Linked DNA regions of Homo sapiens: regions 1, 2 and 3 are each linked to region 4. Evidence: promoter capture Hi-C in 16 types of primary human blood cells and fetal thymus (Javierre and others, 2016). All regions are on one chromosome and are shown on one strand. The core of a region is centred on a gene start or on the middle of the fragment in contact, and the rest is flanking DNA. Distances in the headings are between cores, read along the strand shown. Region 1 has its middle 64 kb from the start of SLC7A3. Region 2 has its middle 20 kb from the start of TAF1. Region 3 overlaps TAF1 (TATA-box binding protein associated factor 1). Region 4 holds the start of NLGN3 (neuroligin 3).

Region 1 (2,700 bases), core at 3-2,502, 150 kb after region 4:
ATAATAACATTGAATGTAAATGGACTCAACTCTCCAATCAAAAGACACAGAGTGGCTGAATGGATAAAAAAAAAGCAAGACCCAATGATCTGTTGCCTACAAGAAGCACACTTCCCCTATAAAGACACACATAGACTGAAAATAAAGGGATGGAAAAAGATATTCCATGCCAATGGAAATAAAAAAGGAGAAGGAGTAGCTGTACTTCTGTCAGACAAAATAGATTTCAAGACAAAAACTATAAAGAGACAAAGAAGGTCATTATATAATATAAATATAAATATATATAAAGAGACAAAGAAGGTCATTATATATAAAGAGACAAAGAAGGTCATTATATAATGATAAATTCAGCAAGAGGATATAACAATTTTAAATACATATGCATCCAACACCAGAGCACCCTGATATACAAAAGGAATATTATTAGAGCTAAAGAAAGAGACAGAACCTAATACAATAATAGCTGTAGACTTCAACACCTCACTTTTAGCATTGGACAGATCATCTGGACAGAAAACCAACAAAGAAACATTGGACTTAATCTGCACTATAGATTAAGATCTGCAAACTGATCTAAAAGATATTTACAGAACATTTCATCCAATGGCTGCAGAATACACATCTTCTCATCAGCAAATGGATCATCCTCAAGGATAGACTATATGTTAGGCCACAAAACAAGTCTTAAAACATTAAAAAAAAATTATGTCAAGTACATTCTCTGACCACAGTGGAATAAAACTAGAAATCAATAACAAGAGGAATTTTGGAAACTATACAAACACATGGAAATTAAACACCATGCACTTAAATGACAAGTAGGCCAATAAAAAAAATGAGAAGAAAACTGAAAAATTTCTTGAAACAAATGATAATGGAAGCACAACATACCCAAACCTATGGGACGCAGTGAAAGCAGTACTAAGAGGGAAGTTTATAGCTATAAGCACCTACGTCAAAAAAGTATTAGGTTGATGCAAAAGTAATCGCGGTTTTTGCCATTGAACATAATGGCAAAAAGTAATGGTTTTCACTTTCAATGGCAAAAACCGCAATTACTTTTGCACCAACCTAGAAAAAACTTCAACCTAGTTCTAGTTGAAGAGATAAACAACCTAAATGAACTTTTCTAGTTCTTTAACATGCATCATTAGGTGGTTTATTTGAAGAATAGAACCTAATGATGCATGAGACAGAACTAGAAAAACTAGAAAAACAAGAAAAAACAACCCCAAAATTAGTAGAAGAAAATAGATAGTAATGATCAGAGCAGAAATAAGTGAAATTGAAACAAATAAAACAATACAAAAGATTGATGAAATGAAAAGTTGTGTATTTTTTGGAAAAGATAAACAATATTGACAAACCTTTAGTCAGACTAAGAACAGAAGAGAGATTATCCAAATAAATAAAATCACAGATGAAAAGGGAGACTTTACAACTGATACTGCAGAAATTCAAAGGATCATTAGAGGCCACTATGAGCAACTATATGCCAATAAGTTAGAAAACCTTGAAGAAATGAATAAATTCCTAGACATATACACCTTCCCAAGATTGAACCATGAAGAAATCCAAAACTTGAACACACCAATAACAAGTAATGAGATCGAAGCTATAATACTAAGTCTCCCAGCAAAGATAATCCTGGGGCCCAATGGCTTCACTGCTGAATTTTACCAAACATTTTAAGAAGAACTAATACCAATCCTATTCAAACTATTCTGAATAACAGAGGAGGAGGGAATATTTTCAAACACACTCTACAAGGCCAGTATTACCCTGATACCAAAACCAGACAAAGACACTTCAGAAAAAGAAAACTACAGGCCAGTATCCCTGATGAACGTTAACGTAAAAATTCTCAAGAAGGCCAGGCATGGTGGCTCACGCCTGTAATCCCAGCACTTTGGGAGGATGAGGCGGGTGGATCACATGAGGCCAGGAGTTTGAGACCAGCGCGGCCAACACGGTGAAACCCCATCTCTACTAAAAATACAAAAATTAGCTGGGCGTGTTGCTGCACGTCTGTAAACCCAGCTACTCAGGAGGCTGAGCCATGAGAATTGCTTGAACCTGGGAGGCAGAGGTTGCAGTGAGTTGAGATCGTGCCACTGCACTCCAGCCTGGGCAACAGGGTGAGATCTTATCTCAAAAAAAAAAAATCCTCAAGAAAATACTAACAAACCAGTCAGATGCAATGGCTCATGCCTGTCAATCCCAGTGCTTTGGGAGGCCAATGTGGGAGGATTACTTGAAGCCAGGAGTTTGAGACCAGACTGGGCAACATAGTGAGACCCTGTCTCTACTAAAAAAAAAAAAAAGACAAAAAAAGACTAGCAAATCGAATTCAACAACACATTAAAAGATCATTCATCATGGCCAAGTGGGATTTATCTCTGGATGCAAGGATGGTTTAATGTATGCAAATCAATCAATGAGATATGTCATACCAATAGAACAAAGGACAGAAACCATATGATCATTTCAACTGATGCTGAAAAAACATTTAATAAAATTCAACATCCCTTCATGATAAAAATCCTCAAGAAACTGGGTATAGAAGAAACATACCTCAACACAACACAAGCCATATATGACAGACCACAGCTAGTATCATACTGAATGAGGAAAACCTCAAGGCCTTTACTCTAAGATCTGGAACACAACAAGGATGACTACTGTAAACACTGTTAT
Region 2 (2,700 bases), core at 43-2,542, 200 kb before region 4:
TGACCAACATGATGAAACCCCATCTCTACTAAAAATACAAAAATTAGCCGGGTATAGTGGCATGCGCCTATAATCCCAGCTGCTCGGGAGGCTGAGGCAGGAGAATCGCTTGAACTCGGGAGGCCGAGGTTGCAGTGAGCCAAGATCATGCCATTGCACTCCAGCCTGGGTGACAAGAGCAAAACTCCATCTCAAAAAAAAAAAAAAAAAAAAAGGCCAGGTGCGGTGGCTCACGCCTGTAATCCCAACACTTTGGGAGACAGAGGTGCGATGACCTGAGGTCAGGAGTTCGAGACCAGCCTGACCAACATGGTGAAACCCCATCTGTACTAAAAATACAAAATTAGCCAGGCGTGGCGGTGCATGCCTGTAATCCCAGCTACTCAGGAGACTGAGGCACGCGAATCACTTGAACTTGCAATGAGCCAAAATCGCACCATTGCGCTCCAGCTTGGGCAACAAGAACGAAACTCTGTCTCAACAAACAAACCAAAAAATAATTTTTTTTAATAAAATAATTCTTAAAAAGATAAACAAAAACACAAACCGAGTGTGGTGGTGCCCGCCTGTAGTCCCAGCTACTCTGGAGGCTGAGTGGGAGAGGATCGCTTGAGCCCAGGAGTTCAAGTCCAGCCTAGGCAACATCGCGAGAGCCCAGTCTCCAAAACAAATATAATCTTAAAAAAAAAAAAAGACAATGAGGTAGTGCGAGAATTACAGTTCCTTTCTATCAGTGTACATTAGTTTGAATTTCCAAGAGTTTTATATAAATGGAATCGTACAGCTTTACTGAGATATAAATTCATACACCATTTAAAATTTACAATTCAGTGGTTTTTGGTATATTACATTTTTAATTTTTATTTATTGTTTTTATAATTTTAAAATAAATTTAAAATTTTTAATTAATTTTATTTCTTTATTCATTTATTTTTTGAGACAGAATCTCACTCTGTCCCTAGGCTGGAGTGCAGTGATATGACCACAGCTCACCCCAGCCTCCACCTCCTGGGCTCAGGTGATCCTCCCACCACAGCCTCTCCACTACAGGCGAGCACCACCATGCCCAGCTAATTTTTGTATTTTTTGTAGAGACAGGGTTTCACCATGTTGCCCAGGCTGGTCTCGAACTCTTGGGCTCAAGTGATCTGCCCACCTCAGCCTCCCAAAGTGTTAGAATTATGCATGCGGCCTGTGTCTTTGCTGTTTTGTTTTGTTATGTTTTGTTTTGTTTTGTTGAGACAGAGTCTCGCTCTGTTATCCAGGCTGGAGTGCAGTGGTGCAATCTCGGCTCACTGCAACCTCCACCTCCCGGGTTCAAGCGATTCTCCTGCCTCAGCCTCCTAAGTAGCTGAGACTACAGGCACGCGCCACCACACCTGGCTAATGTTTGTATTTTTAGTAGAGAGGGGGCTTCGCCATGTTGGCCAGGTTGGTCTCAAATTCCTGACCTCAGGTGATCTGCTCTTCTCGGCCTCCCAAAGTGCTAGGATTACAGGCGTGAGCCACCGTGCCCAGCCACCTGTCTAGTTTTACTTTTTGCAGAGACAGGTCTCTGTGTTGCCCAGGCTGGTCTTGAACTCCTGGGCTCAAGCAATACACCTGCCTTCAGCTCCCAAAGTGCTGAAATTATAGGTGTGAACCACTGCACCTGGCAAATCTTGCTTTTCTACCCAATCTGATCATCTCTACCCTGTAATTAGGGTGTTAAGAACATCTAAGTTTAATGATTGTTAATATAATTAGATTTGGGTCTATCATCTTGTTTTTATTCGTCCCATCTCTTTGTTCTCTTTTTCTGACTTCTTTTGGATTAGTCAATATTACTTTTATTCCATTATATCTCCTATATTGGGTTATTAGCTATTCCTCCTTGTTTTAGTGGTTGCTTACAGGTTTATAGAGACATTTTTAACCTATCTCCATCTACCTTCAAATATTATACTATTTCACAGAGAGTGTAACAGCCTTACATTAATAGGCCAGGTGCGGTTGCTCACGCCTGTAATCTCAGCACACTGGTAGGCTGAGGCAGGCAGATCATCTGAGGTCAGGAGTGCGAGACCAGCCTGGCCAACATGGCAAAACCCCATCTCTACTAAAAATACAAAAATTGGCCAGGTGTGGTGGTGCATGCCTGTAGTCCCAGCTACTCGGGAGGCTGGGGCAGGAGAATCGCTTGAACCTGGGAGGTGGAGATTACAGTGAGCCGAGATCATGCCACTGCACTCCAGCCTGGGCAATAGAGCGAGACTCCCTCAAAAAAAAAACAAACCTTACATTAATATATTTCCAGGTTGGGCACAGTGGCCCATGCCTAATAATTCCAGCACTTTGCAAGGCTGAAGTGGGCAGATTGCATGAGCTCAGGAGTTTGAGACTAGCCTGGGCAACACGATGAAACCCTGTTTCTACCAAAAATAGACTTTATTTTTTAGAGCAATTTTAAGTTCACAGTAAAATCAAGTGGAAAGTACAGAGAGTTCCCATATATTCCGTGCTGCACCCCACAACCTCCCCTACTATCAAACTCTAGCATCAGAATGGAAAAAGAGAACAAAGAACAGTGTGCTATTGTTGAGCTGACTGGGCATGGTGGCTCATGCCTGTAATCCCAGCACTTTTAGAAGCCGAGGTGGGTGGATCACTTGAGGTCAGGAGTTCAAGACTAGCCTGGCCAACATGGTGTAAACCCTGTCT
Region 3 (2,700 bases), core at 158-2,657, 250 kb before region 4:
ATCTGACTACCTAGGTAGTCAAACTTTTAGGTGACCTCCTCTTTATTATGAAATAGTGCCTGGAACTCCTCCCCCTTTCCAGCTTGGATTTTCTGCAGCACTAAAACGACCCACTTGTTCTGTAGGTCAAAGATGCGCTGACATTCCTCTTTGTAACGCTCTTGATGCTCAGCCACAGAAAACCTTGATCCACGGGCAAATTTACTCATGGGCCCCTCTCCAGAACGAGCCTGTTCTGTTGACATTGTGCGCACCACATCAATCACTTCCCAGCGGGACAACTTTTTAATCTACGAGACAAATAGCCACACACAAATATAAATATACACACACACACACACACACACACACACACACACACACACAAATCATTCAGGGATTTCAAAGGACAAGCCAATGTACACAGTTAGACCAAAAAAGAAAAATCACCCCAAAGCAGATTACATAGAAAGATAACTCCTAAAACAATATCTAAGACTTAGCTTACTATACCCTACAATAAAGTTCCCCAGATAGTTCTTTACATCTGCCTCCTAGCAATTCCAACTCTATACAAAGCCCCTAGTATACTCTAAATTTTCCACTTCCACACTCACCTCTTCCTCAGGCACACCAAATTTACGTAGAAGTTGCTTGGCATTTTTCAGGGAAAGGCGACGAAGGTCTGCATCTGTTCCTGTCACTGTCTTCTTCACTGGCTGCGGTTCTTTATCATCCTACCTCAAACAAAAAAAAGTGAGACTCCTAAAAACCTGAATTCCTTTTAAGTAGGCATCTAAGTCATTCTGCTACCTTAACTACATTCCAAGTCCTCCACTCACCCATTTCTTTCTCCCTTGACTTTTTCATTCTAGAAATAAACACAATCTCACCTTCTGCTGTGTTGGTTTGTTTGGAATCTTCACATAGGAGAATCCTTCACCACACCCCGTGGGATCTGCCACCCCAGTCACCTCTAGCAGACACTTGCCCTTCATGGCAGCAATGAAGGCCCTTGTGGTGTTCCAAGGGGCAGTGCGAACCTGAGATAAAGAAAAAGATTCTCAGGGCAGTGGGAAACATTTGTTCTATGTCTAGCCAATATCTACAAGAGTAGAATAATTACAAACTATTTTCATGTTCTTTTTTTCTAATTTTTAATTTCTGTGGGTTCATGCTCTCTTAAACTGTCCACAAAAATCAACAGTTAAATATAGCTACCTAGTACTCAGTTCTCTTCTATCCTATGGTACAATACTTACAACATGATATTAAATAGAGGTCAAGAGCTCAGGCAGGATAAGGAGAAAAATAAAGAACAGTGGTATCCCTTCAGCCCCTTATCCCTTGGGCTTCAATAAACATTCTTAAGGACAGTGTTTCCCTCACCCTCATGATGCTCAAAATTAGACTAATGACTACATTTGATTGTCCAATTGCTCAAACAGCTGTTTTAGAATGAAACCTATTTTCTCGAAATACTTGACATGCTTGCTTTCAAAGCATTGGCCCCTTTTCCAGTGACACTAAACCAAAGTCCATTCTATTTCTGCCACTGGTTTGGTCAAAAAGGTCTGTCCTCTCCTGGGACCCTGAATAGTGTTTACCAACCCCTGCAAGATTCTTAAAGAATTAAGCCAAGGGGTGAATGTGCCTGCCCACACAGACCAGTCAGGAGTACATGAGGCCAGGTGTGGTGACTCACACCTGTAATCCCAACACTCTGGGAGGCTGAGGCGGGCAGATCTCTTGAGGCCAGGAGTTCAAGACCAGCCTGGCCAACATGGTGAAACCCCATCTCTACTAAAAGTACAAAAATTAGCCAGGCGTGGTGGCGCACACCTATAGTCCCAGCTACTCAGAAGGCTGAGGCACGAGAATGGCTTGAACCCAGCAGGCAGAGGTTGCAGTCAGCAGACTGCACCACTGCACTCCAGCCTGGGAGACAGAGTGAGACTCTGTCTCAAAAAAAAAAAAAAAAAGAGTATATATGATTAGCAAGAAAATGGCCATTCTCTAAGGTTCAATCTGGAAAGCCATTCAACAGAATTCTTTTTTTATTTTTAATTTAAAAAAAATTGTTTTTCTTTTTTAGAGACAGGGTCTCACTATGTTGGCCAGGTTGGTCTTGAACCCTTGGCCTCAAGTAACCCTCCCACCTTGGCCTCCCCAAATGCTATGATTACAGGCCTGAGCCACTGCGCCTGGCCTCAAAAGAATTCTTAATTTCTGAAATTCTTAGATATCCACTCATTTTTCATTCCAACCTCAAGAGAGTAGTACAACGATTCTTTACTCACTCTGTGTGGCCTCATTTTCTGCTTCATTTTATAATCACTTAATTCATTTAACAAATATTTATTGAATACCAACTACACACTACTCCTCCATACTACTTTTTCATGAACCTCAAGTTAGTGAGGGAAAAACAGCCAACCAAGTTCAGTACTATGTGATCAGTGCCACGGGAAGAAAGTAGAGGCCAGGCACAGTGGTTCATGCCTATCATCCCAACACTTTAGAAGGCCAAGGCAGGACGATCGTTTGAGCCTAGGAGTTCAAAATCAGCCTGGGCAACACAGTAAGATCCCATTTCTTTCTTTCTTTTTTTTTTTTGAGATGGAGATTCGTTCTTTTAGTCCAGGCTGGACTACAATGGCGTGGTCTCAGCTCCCGGCAACCTCCACCTCCCAGGTTCAAGTGATTCTCCTGCCTCAGCCT
Region 4 (2,700 bases), core at 79-2,578:
GTGTGTGTGTGTGTGAGAGAGAGAGAGAGAGAGAGAGAGAGAGAAGAAAAAGGAAGAGGAGGGAGGGCGGGTAAAGTGGCTAAAGGGGTGGGGGCTCAGAGGAAATGAGGAAATGGGGAGCAAAGTATGGGGGGTAAGATCCCAGACACTGCCCAGAATGCACCCGGGTGTGGGGAGGAGGGGAAGGGGAAGGAAGGGGTAGGAGTAGGGAGGTGGGGCAGGAGGGAGTGGGTGGGTGTGTGTATTGGGGGGGGCATAGTCCGCAGCTGAGTTCACACAATCCCCCCATTCACCGTCTCCATGGCAACTCCAGGGCACAGACCGCTCATTCACACAGCTTCCCCACCAGCAACCCCCCCACATTAACCCCCTCGGTGCTGCCCCCAACCCACAAATTCCATTAACCCTTTCGGGATGCCCTCCTCTCCAGTAACCCTTCGGCGCCAAATGCCAAATTCTCCTTTGAGTCAATTCCCTGCAGCCCCTCCCCCGTGAACACCTAGACAATCGGACCGACCCCCAAACGCCCTCTGTACCCTAGGACCCACTGTGAATCCCCAAGGCCAAGATCTCCATCCTGGTCCAACTTGCAATTTGGGAGAAGACAAGGGGAGGCAGCAATGCCGGGGATGAGAATGGCATCTCGGGGTACTTTTGGGGCTGCAGCGGTGCTGGGCGCGGGGCATTGTGCAGGAATGGACCAATATTGAGAACTGCAGTATTGGGGGCTACGAGGGCTTGGAATGGATTGGGGGATGGAGTTGCACTGGAATGGGGGAGGATAGGATAAAGGCCTCCATTGGGTGGGGGGGCTGCAGATAGTGGGGGAGGGAGCCTGGCTATGAGATGCTATGATGGAAGGGGGATGGGGCTGCACTGCAGGGGAGGGGGGACTGGCAATGTGCAATCCCGGGATGGGGCTGGGGGCCCTCAATAGGGGTATTTTGATGAGCATGCGGGATGGGCTGTGGAAATAGAGGGACCATGGGCGGGAGGATGTTAGGGATGCGGGATTTAGGGAGGAGGTAGAAGGGAGAACAGAAGCGGGGGAGGATCGGGGGTCAGGGGTACCGATGGAGAACATGGGGTTGAGAGGGATGGGGGCCACTGGCTGGGGAGTGGAGGAGCCTGGGATTGGGAGGGGTTAGGATGGGGGCAAGGTATGGGCAGCTAGAGGATGAGAGACCGGGGCAGGCGGCCTCACCTGTTCCCCGGGCTGCTGCAAGCGACTGAACCGGGCCACGGACCACCCATATCGCCTCCAGGCCAAGGGCTCCGCACCCGAATCCCCGAGATCAGCTCTCCGGCAGCCTGGCTGCTGTGCCCGCGCACCGAGGGGGCGCGCTGCGCGTTCCCGGACACGGGGGGGCGCGGTCCCTGCCATTAACTCCTTTTGTGCCAGAGATGGCTCAAGTCCTGGGGCATGGCCCAATTCCCCCCATGCTCAGGCACGTTCCGCTCCCTCTCTCTCACGCGGGCGCGCACACACACCTCAGATTGCAAGCTATCAGACAGGTGATCTTCCAGGGCAGCTAGCCCAAACTTTACCCGCAAAGCTTGAGACTTTGTCCCAAAGGGAGAAACTGAGGCACTGCCTGCAGGAACCCTCAGTCATACTACACAAAAACACACCTCCACCTCAATCAGCATCCCTTATTTCTCAGCGCCAGCACTACCCAAGCAGCAACCAGTGGGGCCACTCTGCTCTCATCCTGTCACTCTCCCAAAGGTCAATGCTGTTCCCTTCTGCTGCTTCTGCTGGGGCATGTCAGACTGTCAGCATGCCAGTTGTCTGACCATTTCAGTCTCTCCCCTCCAGGTTCAGTGTCTTTGTGTCTTGTGTTTTTGTATGTGGCGCACCTGCCATTTGTTTAGCAACCCCCAAGCCCCTCTGAATGTCCCTCATCCCAGCCAAGCCTGTACTCCTGTGGCTCCTCAGAATGTTTATGTCAGGATAGAATAAGTGAGAAGAAAGCTTCAGTCATGTTTGCCTTTACACTGTTGGGGAGTTCCATTCCTTGTGCACGCAACTCTTAAACTTGGTAAGTCCCATATAAGCAAGGGCTTCGTGGGCCTCAAAGAGGGCTATTTTATTTTTTATAACTTGGGTACTGATTGGTGCTCCTGGTTTTGCCAGCACACTAGACACTTCCCAGTAATAGGGTGCAACTATGGCTTGCATGTTATCCTTAAGTTGTCAAATCATCCTGTACCACCCACTCACAAGGCTGAGGCTGATCCTCTTCCAGCCCTAGCTAGGCAGGGCAGAAGACTCCAAGACTCCATTGTAGTAAACCAGTTGGCTCTCCTGGACAGCCTTGGATCTAGAACTCAAACTGGAAAGCAAGAGGGCGAGAATGGCCCTGCCGCAGCTCCAAATGTGACTCTGGGGCAACAGTTTTGAGTTTTCTCTACTGTAAAATGGGAGCGAGCAAGTCATCCTGGGTAACTGCCAAGGTGGGTCACGTGAGAACAGGCAGTTCTGGCAGTAGGGCAGAGAGAGAAAGGGTGCTTATTTTTACTGGTCTCTCTTCCTCCTAGAACCAAACGGTCCTTCCACGACCTATTCTATGATGGCACATGCCAATGGAGGGCAATTTTTCATCCAGGAATGTGACTCTCAGGGAAGTTCTCTGTCCTATGAAAGGTATGCCACTTGGTGCATGATGGGGACCACACAAGATGACAAGAAGGGTAGGC

What was found. The method cuts DNA at HindIII sites, captures the fragments that hold promoters and counts their contacts. A CHiCAGO score of 5 or more calls a contact.
Region 1: a contact is called between a fragment that was not itself captured here and the fragment with the promoter of NLGN3 in region 4, in 1 of 17 cell types (M2 macrophages). The highest score is 5.2, in M2 macrophages.
Region 2: a contact is called between a fragment that was not itself captured here and the fragment with the promoter of NLGN3 in region 4, in 2 of 17 cell types (M2 macrophages and naive B cells). The highest score is 5.8, in M2 macrophages.
Region 3: a fragment that was not itself captured here is called in contact with the fragment with the promoter of NLGN3 in region 4 in 1 of 17 cell types (total B cells); the score reaches 6.1 in total B cells.

Annotation. Positions count from the first base shown.
Region 1 is chrX:70,993,905-70,996,604 of GRCh38, reverse strand. No RefSeq gene overlaps it. Among named protein-coding and RNA genes, the nearest start is that of SLC7A3, 64 kb to the right of the region's middle. The HindIII fragment of the contact is 8,810 bases long and covers 1-2,700 here.
Region 2 is chrX:71,345,151-71,347,850 of GRCh38, reverse strand. No RefSeq gene overlaps it. Among named protein-coding and RNA genes, the nearest start is that of TAF1, 20 kb to the left of the region's middle. The HindIII fragment of the contact is 5,105 bases long and covers 1-2,700 here.
Region 3 is chrX:71,390,891-71,393,590 of GRCh38, reverse strand. It overlaps TAF1 (TATA-box binding protein associated factor 1), which reads right to left. Exons shown (of 38, transcript NM_004606.5): 19 at 873-1,022; 20 at 597-716; 21 at 115-290. Among named protein-coding and RNA genes, the nearest start is that of TAF1, 26 kb to the right of the region's middle. The HindIII fragment of the contact is 3,497 bases long and covers 1-2,700 here.
Region 4 is chrX:71,143,469-71,146,168 of GRCh38, reverse strand. NLGN3 (neuroligin 3) reads right to left here and starts at 1,328. Exons shown (of 8, transcript NM_181303.2): 1 at 1,205-1,328. LOC124905197 (a long non-coding RNA gene) reads left to right here. Exons shown (of 4, transcript XR_007068262.1): 4 at 2,542-2,700. RefSeq lists a silencer at 257-512. The HindIII fragment of the contact is 4,718 bases long and covers 1-1,558 here.